Linked DNA regions of Homo sapiens: region 2 is linked to region 1. Evidence: promoter capture Hi-C in 16 types of primary human blood cells and fetal thymus (Javierre and others, 2016). All regions are on one chromosome and are shown on one strand. The core of a region is centred on a gene start or on the middle of the fragment in contact, and the rest is flanking DNA. Distances in the headings are between cores, read along the strand shown. Region 1 holds the start of FKBP1B (FKBP prolyl isomerase 1B). Region 2 holds the start of DTNB (dystrobrevin beta).

Region 1 (7,715 bases), core at 2,550-5,049:
AACTCATGAGGAAGGTAGGGAAACAGACACACAAATACCAGATTACAATGCAGATTATAATCCATCCATCAAAGATGAATAAACACAATAATTTACAAATATTTGCTGAGAGGCCAGGCATGGTGGCTCACATCTGTAATCTCAGCACTTTGGGAGGCTGAGGTGGGAGGATCACTTGAGCTCAGGAGTTCTAGATCACCCTGGGTAACATAGGGAGACCCCATCTCTAAAAAAAAAAAAAAAAAAAAAAAATCTTTTCAATTAGCTGGGTGTGGTGCCGCATACCTATAGTCCCAGCTACTGAAGAAGCTGAAGTGGAAGGATTGTTTGAGCCCAGGAGGTCAAGGCTGCAGTGAGCTGTGTTCATGCTACTGCACTCTACCCTGGGTGACAGAGCAAGACCCTGTCACAATAAACAAACAGACAAAACAAAACAAAACAAAACCACAAATATTTACTGAGTACCTATGGTGTGCCAAGCCTGTGCCTGATCACAGGGATACAGCAGTGAACACTACAAACAAGATCTCTATCCCTGTTCTTTTAGAGTTTACTTTTTTTTTTTAAGAGTAGGGGTCTCAGTGTGTCACCCAGGCTGGAGTGCAACAGCATGATCTCGGCTCTGTGCAGCCTTGACCTTTCCTGGGCTCAAGCAATCTTTCTTCCTCTGCCTTCTGAGTAGCTAGTACTGCAAGTGCATGCTGCCATGCCCAGCTAATTTTTTTAAAAAAAATTTGTAGAGACAGGGTCTTAACATGTTGTCCAGGTTGGCCTTGAACTCCTGAGCTCAAGAGATTCTCCCACCTCAACCTCCCAAAGTGCTGAGATTATAGGCATGAGCCACCAAACCCGCCCTGGAGTTTATATTCTAATGGACAGAGACAATACTTAAATATACAAAATGATTATGGATTATGATGAATACTCTAAAGAAAATACACACAATGATGTATTAAAGGGAGATGCAGTGGGACAGGCCATTTCAGACAGAGTGGTCCAGGATGGCCTCTTGGAGAAGGTGCCCCCTGGAGCTGGGACTTGAAGGATGAGCAAAATACTGGGAAATAGCACTTGGGAAAGGAGTAACAAGTGCACAGAATCAACACATTTGCAGTGAGCAAGGAGGCTAGGTGCTGGAAAGAAGGGAGGGAGGAGAGAGGTGGGAAGGACATGGATCATGCAGGGCTTGAAGAGCCGGATTTAATACTAAGTGCAATAGGAAACCACTGGAGGGTTTTAAGCCAGAGAATGACATAATCTGAATTAAGATTTTATAACATCACTCTGGCTGCTATGTGTAGGATGGACGGTTAGGCGTCTGTTGCAATAATCCAGACAAGAAATCAATGATAGCTTGATTTAAGGTGGTGGCAGCAGAGAAGAGAGTGAAAGATTGGAGACATATTTTCGAAGCGGAGCTGACAGGTCATGCAATCAGACTGGAAATGGGGTCCAGGATGAGGACAAAGGAGACAACAAGAACGATGCTTGGGTTTTCTGTTTGGGCAACTGGATGAATAGTGCAACTATTTCCTGAGATAGGGAAGACGGGAGGAACAGATTTGTGCGGGTGGCAATCTTGAGATGCCTATTAGACATCTGAGTTTATATTGCAAGTAGGCAGATGAAGAGTCTGCACTGGAGGTATAAATTTGGCTGGAATTTAAAGCTACGGGGCTGGATACAAAGCCTAAGGAAGCCTAACCACAGAGCCGATATTTAGAGGACTCTATGGGATCCTGGAGGAGGGAGCAGCTAACTGACCACAGAAGTCAAGGAAAACATCATAGAGGAGAGAATGGTGAAGCCAGGTCTTGAAAGACAAGTAAGAGTTTGCCAGAGGAAGTGAAAAAACACCATCTGGGAAGAGGGAACAACATGTAACATGTTCAAAGGCCCTCAGTCCAGCAATAGCGGGAACCCTGTCTGTTTCAACTGTGTCACCTTAGGGCCTAGCACACACGTTCAATAAATATTTGCTGAACGAGTGGTGTGTTTGACAACTTGCAGGCAGCTTGGGAAAGCTGGAGGAAAAAGTTAGTGGTGGGCTTAGGACAGGTGGTGAGAGATGAAGCTCTAGTGTGGAAGATGAGAATAGACCATAGCACCAAAGGCCCCTCCTGGGGGAGAGGGAAGAATCATTAAAACATCTTCTGCCTGAGGGAGGGGCATAGTCAAACATGCATTTTTTTTCTTTTTTTTTTTTGAGATAGAGTCTTGCTCTGTCACCCAGGCTGGAGTGCAATGGCACAATCTCAGCTCACTGCAACCTCTGGCTCCCAGGGTCAAGTGATTCTCCTGCCCCAGCCTCCCGAGTAGCTGGGATTACAGGTGCGTACCACCATGCCCAGCTAATTTTTGTATTTTTAGTAGAGACGGGGTTTCAACATGTTGGTCAGGCTGGTCTCGAACTCCTGACCTTGTGATCCGCCCGCCTCAGCCTCCCAAAGTGCTGGGATTACAGGCGTGAGCCACTGCATTTTAAGAAGAGTCTTCAGGCTATGATATAGAAAGGGAGTGAATATGAGATTGGGGACGAGATTGAAAGCAGGGAGGAGAGACTGAAGATGGGGAGATTAGCTCAGGGGCTGCTGAGGGATGAAAAGGCCTCAGGGAGATGCTTTCTGGGACCCAGCAGCAATGTTTCCTGCGTGGGCAAAGAAGCCTGTACTCCAGGGGATATCTGAAGTAGTGGCTGGGATTGGACAAGGAAGATGGCCTGGAGCCAAGAAGTTATCCAATTTCCTGGGGAGGGGAGCTGTTCATATTAATAATATCTGATATGAAGTTTGCCCATCAAACCCTGCAGACAATGGGGGCTTTGGTATTAATTAAATTTCAAGAAATAAAGAAATGGCTATTCCTTGCACACCCAGACCCAGTAATACAAGGACTTGGGAAAGTGAGACACGGAAGGGGGATAAAGAGGATCACTTAGGAGAGAAGGTGGGAAGCGAGAGTTCTGTTTTGGACTTGCTGACCAGGGAGCACCCTGGGACGTCCAGGGAGAGGTTCGGCCGTAGGTCGCAGGGCTGGGCTTAGAAGCTTCAATGTGGAGGCCATGGGAGTGGACAGGGTGGCCAGGGAGTCTGAAAGCGGCGGCAGGATAAAGCGAGATCCGGAAGCGGGCAAGGGAGCGCTTCCCCCTTCCCCAGCCTGGGTCTGTCCCCACAGCCGCTCACAGCCCGGCCCGCAGGGAAGCGACCGAGGGGAGGCCCGGCGGGGGACGCGCTAGGAGGAGGTCCCCGAGCAGCGGGTATCCGAGAGCAGGTCCTGCTTTCCAGAGCTCGCCGAGTAGGGCAGGGAAAGCGAAGCCGAAACCCAGGCTGGGGTATCAGCAGCAGCGGATAACCGAACGACTGCAGCCGCGACAGGAGAAGCCCGGGGCGGTGGCGGGCCGCAGACCCCCGCCTCCGGGCCGCAGACCCCCGCCTCCGAGCTGCCGCCTACATTCCCCTAGGTGAGCGCGGAAGAGGATGGCGGAGGATGGTCTCCTAGACCCCCAAGAATCCCGTCCGGCGTCTCCGCCTGCCTTCCCCATCCAGCCCCCCGACCCTTCAGCACCCTCCACGCCACCTCCGAATCAGACCCCCGCCCTCCGGGCTCCGCCCCGGGACCCCTCCCCTCCCCTGGCTCCGGAGGGAGCCCGGTACCGTCTCCGGGGGAGATGGTCTCGATCTCCACGCCCATAGCGGTCCCACAGGCCCCGCCTCTGGGGGGTCCCTGCTGCTGCCCGACCCCGGCTCGGCTCCGGCCCCAGCCCCGCCGTCGCTCCGGCTCGCCTCCTCGCCGCCACTGCAGAGCCGGAGGAGGTGCGGCTGGAGTCGGGACCTGCGCGGGGAGGGGCCACTGGCAAGGGGGCGGCGGGGCGGAGCCGCGCGGAAAGGTGGGGTCGGCCGGGGCGGGGCCCGGGGGAAGGGACCCCGCCCGGCTGTTAGCGAGCCTGGCCCCGCCTGACGACATTAACCCACTGACCAGGGAGCGTGGTAAGCACAACCACATCCTCCATCCATCCATTCATTCGCGCATCCGTCCAATAGACATTTATTTAGCATCTAATCTGTAGTAAGCTCTGGGAAGTCAACCCAGTCCTACAGACTTGTGGGGGGTGGGGGGCAGAAGGGGCAAAGGCCGGCGATTAAACCATCATTTTATTTTTATTTTTATTTTAGACAGAGGATCTTGCTCTGTCGCCCAGGCTGGAGTCCAGTGGCGCGATCATAGCTCACAGCAACCTCGAACTCTTAGGCTCAAGCGATCCTTCTTCCTCAGCCTCCACCCAAGTAGCTGGGACTAGAGGCGCGAGCAACCACGCCCAGCTAATCTTTTATTTTTTATTTTTATTTTTTGTAGAAACGGGGTCTCGCTGTGTTGCTATCTAATGAAACCATCACTTTAATTAGATGCGCTCAGTGCCGTGCAGTTCAGAGCGTTGCGGAAGCACAGAAGAGGTTCCTACCCTCGCTAGGCGTCCTGGATCTGTAGGAGCAGAGCTGGGGGAGGGAGGGAGGACACCAGTAATTGCTGACTCTCCCCCATACCCCTAAACCCCTGTTCTCCATCTCGTGTAGTTCTGCTCGACGCACATTTATTGGGTACTCAATTTTCAAGGCAAAGAAATGCGCCCTGGGGATACCAATAGAATTAAGACAGGTTGGCTGTCTTCCAGGTACTAAGTCTGAGAGGGACGGGGACACACAGTTACTGCATGGAGTGATTAGTGCTGTGGAATGAATGAATGAATATGTAAATGAATTCTACTTTGAGTTCCTCCTCCACCAAAAAATACATTCAGGAATCTAGAAAAATATTTTTTGGAGGAGGTAATATTTGTTTAAAGGGTAATTGGGACTTTTAAAATTTTTTCCCCCTCATTATTACCTGCATTGTTCCAAAAATTGATGTGAGGCCAAGTATATCAATTTTTGGAACAATGGCTCACACCTGTAATCTCAACACTGTAGGAGACCGAGGCAGGAGGATTGCTTGAGCCTAGAAGTTCAAGACCAGCCTGGGTAACATAGCGAGATCCCGTCTCTCTCTCTCTCCTTTTTTTTTTTTTTTTTTTTGAGACAGAATCTTCACTCTGTCGCCAGGATGGAGTGCAGTGGCACAATCTCGGCTCACTGCAACCTCCGCCTCCCAGGTTCAAGCGATTCTCGTGCCTCAGTCTCCCAAGTAGCTGGGATTACAGGCGTGAGACACCAGCGTTCGGCTAATTTTTAAATTTTTAGTAGAGACAGGGTTTCACCATGTTGGCCAGGCTGGTCTCGAACTCCCGACCTCAGGTTATCCGCCCGCCTCAGCCTCCCAAAGTGCTGGGATTACAGGCATGCCATCTTTATTTTTAAAAAAAGAAAAGAAAAGAAAAAGAAAAACATAAAAACTGATGTGAAGATATGATTCTCCTGAGTGGCACTGGAAGATAGGCATGGGGAGAAAAGCCTGGCAAACTGGTCCAGAATGAGCCCCAAGGGTGTTCTTCCTCCATTTCCTCATCCCCACTCTCCCGGATGCTTAGGTCCCAGATGAGGTTGTCTGCATCCCTGAAGGTGTTCTGGCTGTGTTGTTAAAGAAAGATGATTGTCGACTGTACTGTGAGGGTCAGGACCTGGAATTCCTCATAGGTCTGAAGAAGCCTAAGGGACGCACTAAATCCATAGGCTGCGGCCAGAGCAGGCACGCTTAGGGTCGGGGTAGAACAGGGATTTGTAGCTGGGACAGGCCCATGCAGCGGCTTCAGCTCAATGCACAGTATTTTGTGTACAGATAAGAACATTTTCCTGAGAGATTTTATCAGATTTTAAAGAAGGTTAAAAAGCCGTGGTGATCCTAGGGCTCCTGGACTCCTTAGACAAGAGAACCGACGAGAAGTGGGGAAAGAGCTCAAGTGCTTAAGGGAGGGAAAATGTGGCGGGCTTGCGGTCGGTGGTTTTACGGGGACTACCACTCCCAGCGATCCGTGCGGCAGAGCCAGAGCTTATTGGCCAGTGGGACGAACCCTCTGCTAATGTGCATATTCAAAAGCCAATAGACGGGGCCATCTCGGAGCGTGCCTATCCTATCAGAGGACCACCCACCTATCAGAGGACCGATATCACCGCCCACCTATCAGAGGACTGAGGGCCGGTGCTTCCGGTGGCTGCCCAGAACTTCTTATGTGCGGCGGCGTGATGTTGGGCGGCCACAGAGAGATTGGTGTTTTTGTGAGGCAGTGAGACCTAAGGTATTTCATCTCCACTGCTGCCGGGCCTGGCGGGTGTGGGGAGGCTGTAGGGGGTCAGGAGGGAAGTGGATCGGCTCTTGGTGGGTAGGGGGCGGGAAGGAGGAGATTCAGGCGTGCAGAGAGGATGAGGAGAATGGGGCGGGCCGCGTGTGAGGGGTCGCGGGATGAGGATCGAGCTAGGGGTGGGTGTAAATGAGGGATTATGACCGTGACTCGTGAATAACACTCCTGGGAATATGTCCCAAGGAAGTCATCCAAAGTCAGGAAATGCTTTAAGCCTTAAGACCTCGGTCCGAGCTTTATTTATAGCGGGTAGCGGGATAAAGTTGGGTACAGCTAGGAGCAGTTCAGTACATTATGTCACTTCACTGAGTGTATGTGAAGTGGCCTCTAAAACTAATTTATTAAACTTTTAAATAACATAGGGAAATGCTAATATATAATGTTAGATGAAAACCGTGATACAAAGTTGCACAGTATAACTGAAAAAGTTTGACAGCCAAACTATGCATAGAAGAGTCTAGAGGGATTAGTCATAATTTTCTTTGGATGAATGTTTTTTCGTTAACTCTTCTTAATTTTTTTCTTGTGTATGATTTTTGTTTCCAAATAAGTGTAAAGAACTTGAAATCATTTTATAGTGGAAATACAATAAACTTGGAAAACAAGTTGGGGGAGGGATGTACTTTTGTTTAAACCTGCTGGAAATGCCAGTTCACCTGAATCCCTTGATTCTCGTCATGAGTTGTCTTTAAAGAAGATGAAAAACAGAATTAAATGGTTATATACTGAGCACCGGCTCTTAGTTTTCTGACCACCTCTCCGGAGACCTGAACTAATACAGTGGTCTTTTCCCTCCTAAAACACCCAGGGTTCTTGATTTCATGTTCTCCAAAAAACTTATACTCTGGAGATTGTGAAACAATAGGTATACAATTAGTTTCAGGCAAAATCAGTAGCGTTGGGGAATGCCTGAAGAGCATTTAAACCTTGGTCCTCCTGGCCCTCTGATCTTATACAGTGAGGTTCTCCACTACCTTGACTTTAATGATTAACCCTATGTCAGTGATTTCCAAATCCTTACCTCTGACTGCCTAAGGTACATTGGTACCATGTAGACATCTTACATGAAGCACATGTTAATTTCAATTTGTCACATACTACACACGTTCCTCCCCTACTGCCCCCACCCCCACCTCCCCAACAGGGTCTCACTCTGTCACCCAGGCTGGAATGCAGTGGTGTGATCATAGCTTACTGTAACCTTGAACTCCTGAGCTCAAATCCTCTCAGCCTCCATAGTAACTAGGACTGCAGGTGTGGGACGCTGCACCCAGCTAATTTTTATTTTTATTTTTATTATTTTTTATTTTCCTTTTTTATGGAACGCTTCACAAATTTGCAAGTCATCCCTGTGCAGGGGCCATGCTACGCTCTGTATCATTTCAGTCTTAGTATATGTGCTGCCAAAGTGAGCACCCACCTCATT
Region 2 (7,715 bases), core at 3,553-6,052, 1.6 Mb before region 1:
TTTGTAAACAGTTCTTTTTTATCGACTAGATGTTTTAAAAACAGCATGAATGGATGGATATAAAATCCTTGGCTTGCATCTTTGTTCCTTAAGTTTCCAGAAAATGCTGAAAATGCTGTATCACTACTGCCTTGCTTGTTTGTTGTTCTTGAGACGGGTGATGCCAACTATTTTGGCTACCAGACTCCATAATAAACCACCTACCCTAAAAAGAATGGCTTCAAGTAAGAACCATTTTAATTATAATTTCACAGTCTTTGGAGTTAGGAATTTGGGTAGGGCTTGGCTGGATGATTCTTCTGTTCCCTGTGGCTTCAACTGAGGTCACTCAGTGGTATTCTGCTGATGTAGGGCTTTCATGACGATTTCACTCATACCAGCAAGAATCAGCTAGGTCCTCTCCTTCTCCATGTAGGACCTTTCTGGGGAGTTACATATTTTACATAGCAGCTTGGGGCTTTAAGAATAAGTGTTCTGGCCAGGCACGGTGGCTCACGCCTGTAATCTCAGCACCTTTGGAGGCTGAGGCGGGTGGCATGAGGTCAGGAGTTCAAGACCAGCCTGGCCAATATGGTGAAACCCCGTCTCTACTAAAAATACAAAAATTAGCCAGGTGTGGTGGTGGGTACCTGTAGTCCCAGCTACTCGGGAGGCGGAGGCAGGAGAATCGCTTGAAACCGGAAGGCAGAGGTTGCAGTGAGCAGAGATCGTGCCACTGCACTCCAGCCTGGGTGAAAGAGTGAAAGTCCATCTCAAAAAAAAAAAAAAAAAAAAAAAAAAAGTGTTCCCAAAGACCAAAGACCCAAACTCAAGTGGACACTTAAAGACTTTTTGTGAACTGGGATTAGAAATCCCAGAATATTGCATGTTCTATTGGCCGAGCAATTCAGTAAGGCCATCCTGGATGGAGAGGAATGATAAAAAAAAAAATTGGCAGCCACGTTTAAAGTCCCGCAGCCCAATTTTCTTTTCTTTCTTTTTTTTTTTTTTTGAGGCAGATTTTCGCTCTTGTTGCCCAAGCTGGAGTGCAATGGCGCAATATCGGCTCACTGCAACCTCCGCCTCCCGGGTTCAAGCGATTCTCCTGCCTCAGCCTCCCGAGTAGCTGGGATCACAGGCGTGCACCACCACACCCGGCTAATTTTGTGCATTTTTAGGAGAAACAGGGTTTCACCATGTTAGCCAGGCTGGTCTCGAACTCCTGACCTCAGGTGATCTGCCCACCTCAGCCTCCCAAAGTGCTGGGATTACAGGTTTGAGCCACCGCACCTGGCCTGCAGTCCAATTTTCTTACCCTTTTAAACAATTTGAACTTTGTACCTGCAGACCTTGAAGATTATTATTATTATCAGTTTAACACTGTAAATAGCATAGCTCTCAGAGTTCAGCCTCTGGCAATTTTCCCAGGTAAATGTAGGCCTTATAGGTTTATATCTTATTTTCAGAAAGATTCTTAGATTATAGCTTCGACATATGTAGCACCCCAGTGACACATATGTTGGATATTCTTTGCTTGTATTCAAATGACATTCCAAAAAGAGACAGAAACAAGCACAAAGGTGTGGAGCCAAGGGGAAGTGGAAACATTCCAGGAGTTTGTATGGTGTGTGTGGAGGAAGCAATAGACGATGGATTGGAGAGAATGGGCAAGGGCTAGATTAAGGGAAGTGCTAGACAGTGACACCAGGGGTGGTAAATTTTTGAAAGCTTTCTCTAATCTGCAGCATGGAAGATGGATTGGAAGCAGCAAGACTGGCAGGGAGACCACATAAAAAGCTGCTGCATGGCCAGGCGCAGTGGCTCACGCCTGTAATCCCAGTACTTTGGGAGGCCAAGGCAGGTGGGGATCACTTGAGGCCAGGAGTTTGAGACCAGGCTGGTCCACATGGTGAAACCCCGTCTCTAACTAAAAATATAAAAATTAGCCAGGCATGATGATGGGCATCTGTAATCCCAGCTACTCAGGAGGCTGAGGCAGGAGAATCGCGTGAACCTGGGAGGCGGAGGTTGCAGTGAGCCAAGATCGTGCCACTGCACTCCAGCCTGGGTGACAGAGCGAGACTCCGTCCCAGAACAAACAAACAAAGCTGCTGCATTAGTTTAGGGGAGGTGGGCTAAGAGGGAAAGATTCTAGTTATTTATTTATGAGGAAGCATCAATGGGACTTAGTGGTTGTTGGGTATGGAGTCAGGGCAGAGGGGTGGTGGGAGAAGAAGGAATCAAGAATGGCCCCCCAGTTTCTGAATTGGTCAACTGGGTGGACAGTAGTTTAGACATGTAGAACGTGGGGTACCTCTAGGACACCCAGGTGGAGAAGTCTGGCGGGCTTTTGTGAATAAGGAACCCAGATGAGTGGCCTGAGCTAGAGAGAGTGCACTTGGGAGTTGCTGATATGCGGTAGATAAAGAAGCGGAGTGGATGGAATGGTCCAGGGAGAATGTGTGGCGTGAGACCAGCTGAGGAGAGAATCTGTGAAACTGAGAAGTGGTCACAGGGGTTAAGACAGGAGTCATGCCATGACACCAAGGGAGTTTCAGAAAGAGTGGGCTACTCTGTTCAATGTCACTGAGAGTTCTAACAATATGAGGACTCAGAGATGGCTTGTGGTATTTAGGATCCAACAAGCCATTCATGACTGAGAGCAATGCAGTGATGTGGTGTGGACAGAAACTACATAGGTTTGAGGAGCTGAGGAGCTGCTGAGGAGGTAGAGATGAGGGTAGATGACTTTCAAGATATTTATGAAGGAAAACTCAGAGAGGGACTAGTAACTGAAGCAGAATCTAGAGGGACAGCGAAAGGGTTTCTTCCTTTTTCTTGAGGACAGGAAAAGCTTAAACATGAATAGATGATGAAGGAAAGAGACAAGTAAAGAGAAGTTGGTAATTTTGGAGTGAGAGGGGGAGAATGATTGAAAGGTGTTTGAAAAGTTTTCTGAGGATGTGGGAGGTGAAGAAATAGAGAACAGAGATGGAGAGATGCCAATACAGTGTCCTTGAAGTATTTAATTCCCTTATGGTTTAGGATTGTCTAGTCCACATATTGAAATTACCTTGGTTTCAATCAATAAACCGAACATATCAAGCGATATTTACACATTTATTTTATATTATTTACACATCTTTTCTCCAAAGAACAGAATCAATGTTTTACCCCTCTCAATGCCTTCCACATAGGGGGTGCTCAAAAAGGGCAAATAAAGAAGCTAGAGGTCTCTTACCTGTATTCTGAGTATCTTAATATGTACAAAACATAGCCAAGACCGTGCCTACAAGAGATAAGTCTCCTCAAGCATGAAAATATTCACACACTTCATATATGTAAGGTAAAAGGTAAAATGTCCATCTTTATTTATTTATTTTGAGACGGAGTCTCACTCTCTTGCCCAGACTTGGAGTACAGTGGTGCGATCTCGACTCACTGCAACCTCTGCCTCCTAGGTTCAGGCGATTCTCCTGCCTCAGCCTCCCAAGTAGCTGGGATTACGGCGTACACCACCACGCCCGGCTAATTTTTGTATTTTTAGTAGAGACAGAGTTTCGCCATGTTGGCCAGGCTGGTCTCGAACCCCTGACCTCAAGTGATCCGTCTGCCTCAGCCTCCCAAAGTGCTGGGATTACAGGCGTGAGCCTCCGCGGCAGGCCAGAAAATGCTCATCTTTTGAGGAACCTATTTGTTCCCATTTAACAAAGTTGGTTATCAGCATTTCCTTCACCATAGGAGTTTAAAAATAAAAAGAGGAGAGGAGGAGGAAGAGGGTGTTCTAAAGGCAGGCAGGCAGGCAGGCAGGCAGCAGCAGGAGGTGGCACGATCTGCCTTACCGTAAGGTGCCAAAAAGCAGTGAAAACCATACTCCCAGCATGCAGGCCTGGGGTCGCTTAGCTCTGGAGCTTACAGCCTTCATCATTGACCAATAGCCCCCAAAGGACGTTGCTGTTTTGAGTCTTAAGTAACGTTGAGAATGACCATTTGAACCATTCAAAAAGTCCTTGCTATATTCTAATTTGGCACCATCTCCTGTATTTCACAGTTTGGAAAGAATTCTATAAAAGATGGATAACAGTAAAACACAAAAAAGCTGGTGCTGAGATGGTAAACCTGGCTGCCCCGGCTCCTTTGCCCAAACTGTTTTCCCAGCCCTAATGTCCTCCCTTTTTCCTCCTAGGACTTCTTTTTCTTCCTTCGAGGTTGACCATAAATGCCGCCTCTAGCCCTCTGCGGCGTCCAAGCAGAAGTCGTCTCTAGCTTCTGTGCCAGCATCGCACCGTGGCTTGGCTCTGCACGGGTCATCGGACTTGGTTGTGTACATGGCTGTTTTCCCCGCTAAGTTTGGGGCGCCTCGAGCCCAGGCGCCGTGACCGTGATCGTGCGCCCACAGGCACCTGGTGCAGCGCGGGGCGCACGCCGCGGCTGGGCTAGCTTGCGGAGTTCACGGGGGTCACTCGGGCACAGGCTTGTGACCCAGGCGCGGAGAATGATTCACGGGGTGGCTCTTTGCATTCTTTGTCGGGTAGTCACGTCGGGCCGGGCACCCCGCCGACGGATACCTGCGGATGGAAAGACACCCGGCCCGACGCCAGCGAGCGGGAGAAGCCTGGATGGAGCCAGCTTCCCGCCTGCCCGGAACCCGCCGGCGACCGGTGGGCGGGGCGCGGCCGCGGGGGCGGGGTGGAGGGGGGTTGCTCGGCCGCTCCCGCCCCCTCCCCGCGCGCGGAAGCCACGCCCCCGGCCGCGCGCTCGCGCTGGGCGCGCGCCCGCCCATCCGCCCTCCGCCCTCCGCCCTCGCGCCCTCGCGCCGGGGGCGGGCGCTGCGCGTGCCGGGCGGAGAAGCGGCGCGAGCCGGGCGCTGCGAACGTTCGCCGCGGGGGTGGCTCCGGGGCCTGAGTAGGCGCTGCCGCTGCCTCAGCCGAGGGGGCTGGGCCGGAGCGTGCGGAGGAGTGAGGCCGCAGGAGACCTTCCCGACGACCCCTGCTCCGGCGGGGAAGTGAGCAAGGTGGGGGTCTGCGGCCGCCGCCGGGGCTGTGGGGAGACGAGCTGGGCTGGAGCCTCGCGCCCGCGAGGTGCGGGACGGCAGCTCGCGCTGCGCCGGGACTGGGGACCCGGGAGCCTGCGGGTGCGGCGCTGCAGGAGTCGGGGAGGGCGCGGGGAGCCGGGGCCGCTGCACCGCGCGCGGCTGCGAGGTGGGACGGCGCGGCTAGCCCCGGAGGGACAGGCAGAGGGGATGCGGCGGATCCCGGGCCGGGAGGGGTATCGGGGTCCGGAACGCGCCGGGGCACGGGCGCGAGCGGGGGCCCGGCGCCGGGCTGATGCTGCCCGAGCCCGGCTCGCCTGGAGGCGGCTCTGCGTTAGGTGCTGAAGGGGCGAGTGAGGCAGGTCCTGGCAGAGGGCAGGTGAGGCGGGCAGGCCCTGGCAGAGGGAAGGGTATTTATTTCAGATCACCCCAAATCACTGTTTCCCGAGGCGCCTAATAGCGAACCTGTCCAGGAGGTCACCCTGGACAGGAAAGAAGTGTCCCGAGACGAGGATGCCGGTGACGAATACTTGCCCTTAAATTCCTGTGCCAGGCCTTGGGATTAGGAAGACCTTCCAGCTACCGTAGGTAGAGACCCGTAGTCAGCACTGGGGCCACGAAATAGTATGGAACACCGTCATGTTATTGAGGTGCTGACAGTGTGGCTGTGAAGATATGCACATGAAATACAAAGGAGCGTCGAATTTTATGTCGCATGCCCTATTTACTTTCGGTCTCTTTTGTCTTTTCCCAGTATTGGGAAATTGGAGCCATAAATTGCGTGGTTTTGGGGATAAAGCAGAAAGGTCAAAAGAAGCCTATGGGAGAAATTTGGGAGAGTTTTGAAGGCTCCTACGGGTAACATTTAAAGGGGGCTCTTAGATGGGGAAAAAAGACGTTTGGAAAGAAAGGAAGTTTCCTTCCTTCCCATCTAGAAATAAGCTCCATGACTATTGACTGCTAAATCTTCAGAATGTTGCCTGGCTCACAGCGGTTGAGCCATAAGTGTCTATTGCATGAATGAATGGACAAGCAAGGTTTGGCCACATTTGCCATGGAGCAGTGTCAGTCACTCTAGTGTTAGGGAAGGTTGCTGGATTTCTCCTGTTCCACAAGTTCTCTCTCTCTGCCTCTTTTTTTTTTTTTTTTTTTTTTTTTTTTTTTGCTATGCGAGGCAACCCCGGTTCTGAGGTCTGGGCACGTTAAAGCAATGGCTAAGGCGGCGAGGTCTTGGTTTCTGTGGCCATGCTACCACTTTCCCATGTGTCTTTCATGTTGGCCTTCAAGAGCTTGCTCCTTGGCCTGTTGCTTGAGATCATCCCATTTTGTTCCTTCTCCCATTGGCTTTTTCTATTACTTGAGAAGGAAGAGGGTAGTGTTGTCTAGAGAACACTTTTTCATTTTGGTCCTGGTTCTTGGGTCTTAGACCTGTAGTGCGAGGCTGTTGGTGCCTCTGCTTTTCTGTAAGGGCTGGAATTCTACCTGTGCTCTGCCTTGGTTGAATCTCTGAACTCTGGAGCTCCAGGCTGCTGTTTCAGTAACCTGGGTTGCAGTGCCTGTTGGGTTACTTTGTCTGCCAAATTAAAACTTGACCTTTTATGAGTTCTCTAAGGATTTTTATCATGCATAAGTGGAATTGCCTTTGAAAGGGGTTGTGCAGTCAAGGTAGTGCTGGCAGAGTTTTTGGATGTCCACTATGCCCGAGAGACAAATTTCTACCTATGGTTAGAAAATTAGACTCAGAACCAAGAGAATTTCAACTTATTGTTTATTTTATGTCTTTATGTTACTCTCTCAGGGCCTTAGTTTCTTCGTGTGAAAAATAAGTAATAATCAAAATCTGGCATTGTATAGGAAGCCTTGAAGAAGTAAATTTATTTCTCCTGTTTCAGGGCTGTACAGCCAGCAGGTCTCTTGTTGAGAGGTGCCTAGGTTCTACAATATTGGGTGCCTTATTCCAGGCTCTCTCAATGATATTTTGTTTATGTATTTATTTTAAAACCAACTTTTTGACGTATAGTTGACAAAATAAAATGCACAGATTTCCCGTGTGCGGTTGGATGAGTTTTGGAAAAATGTGTACAGTAGTCCCCCCATTAGCCTCAGGGATATGTTCCAAGAGCACCAGTGGATGCCTGAAGCCACAGTTAATTCCAAACCCTATATAGACTGTTTTTTCCCTATACTTAAGTATCTATGATAAAGTTTTAACTTATAAATTAGTTGCCATGAGAGATTAATGACTTCTCTTAGGCATATGTTTGGCTTCTCTGTGGCATATCCCAATTGCCAGCATCACTACTCTTGCACTTTATTATTAAGTAAAACAGTGGTCACTTGAACACAAGCACTGTGATACCATGACAGTCAATCTGATCATTGAGACAGCTACTAAGTGAGTAACCAGAAGGTGGCTTATGCAGTGTGGATATGCTGGAGAAAGGGATAGTTCATATCCCAGGTGGGACAGAGTGGGATGGCACAAAATTTCGTCACGCTATTCAGAATGGTACACAACTTAAAACTTACAAATTGTTTATTTCTGAGGGGAGACTGCTGTATACTTTGTAACCACCATTCCAATCAAGAAATTTCCATCACCCCAGAATGTTCCCTTATGCTGGTTTGCAGTCCATTCTCTATCTTCCCTACTCCCTTTTATTGATTTCGAATTACACGAGCATCAGAGCTGTGGCACCTAGTT

What was found. Contacts are between HindIII fragments. The CHiCAGO score rates a contact against its expected background, and 5 or more counts as called.
Region 2: the fragment with the promoter of DTNB here is called in contact with the fragment with the promoter of FKBP1B in region 1 in 2 of 17 cell types (monocytes and total B cells); the score reaches 5.8 in monocytes.

The regions. Positions count from the first base shown.
Region 1 is chr2:24,045,825-24,053,539 of GRCh38, reverse strand. It overlaps FKBP1B (FKBP prolyl isomerase 1B), which reads right to left and starts at 3,799. Exons shown (of 4, transcript NM_004116.5): 1 at 3,654-3,799. The coding sequence starts at 3,690. It overlaps WDCP (WD repeat and coiled coil containing), which reads left to right and starts at 6,149. Exons shown (of 4, transcript NM_025203.3): 1 at 6,149-6,226. It also overlaps the pseudogene RNU6-370P. RefSeq lists a silencer at 3,638-3,937. The HindIII fragment of the contact is 22,874 bases long and covers 3,048-7,715 here.
Region 2 is chr2:25,670,664-25,678,378 of GRCh38, reverse strand. It overlaps DTNB (dystrobrevin beta), which reads left to right and starts at 4,802. Exons shown (of 21, transcript NM_021907.5): 1 at 4,802-4,993. RefSeq lists an enhancer at 2,407-2,616 and silencers at 4,765-5,059, 4,424-5,353. The HindIII fragment of the contact is 7,823 bases long and covers 2,836-7,715 here.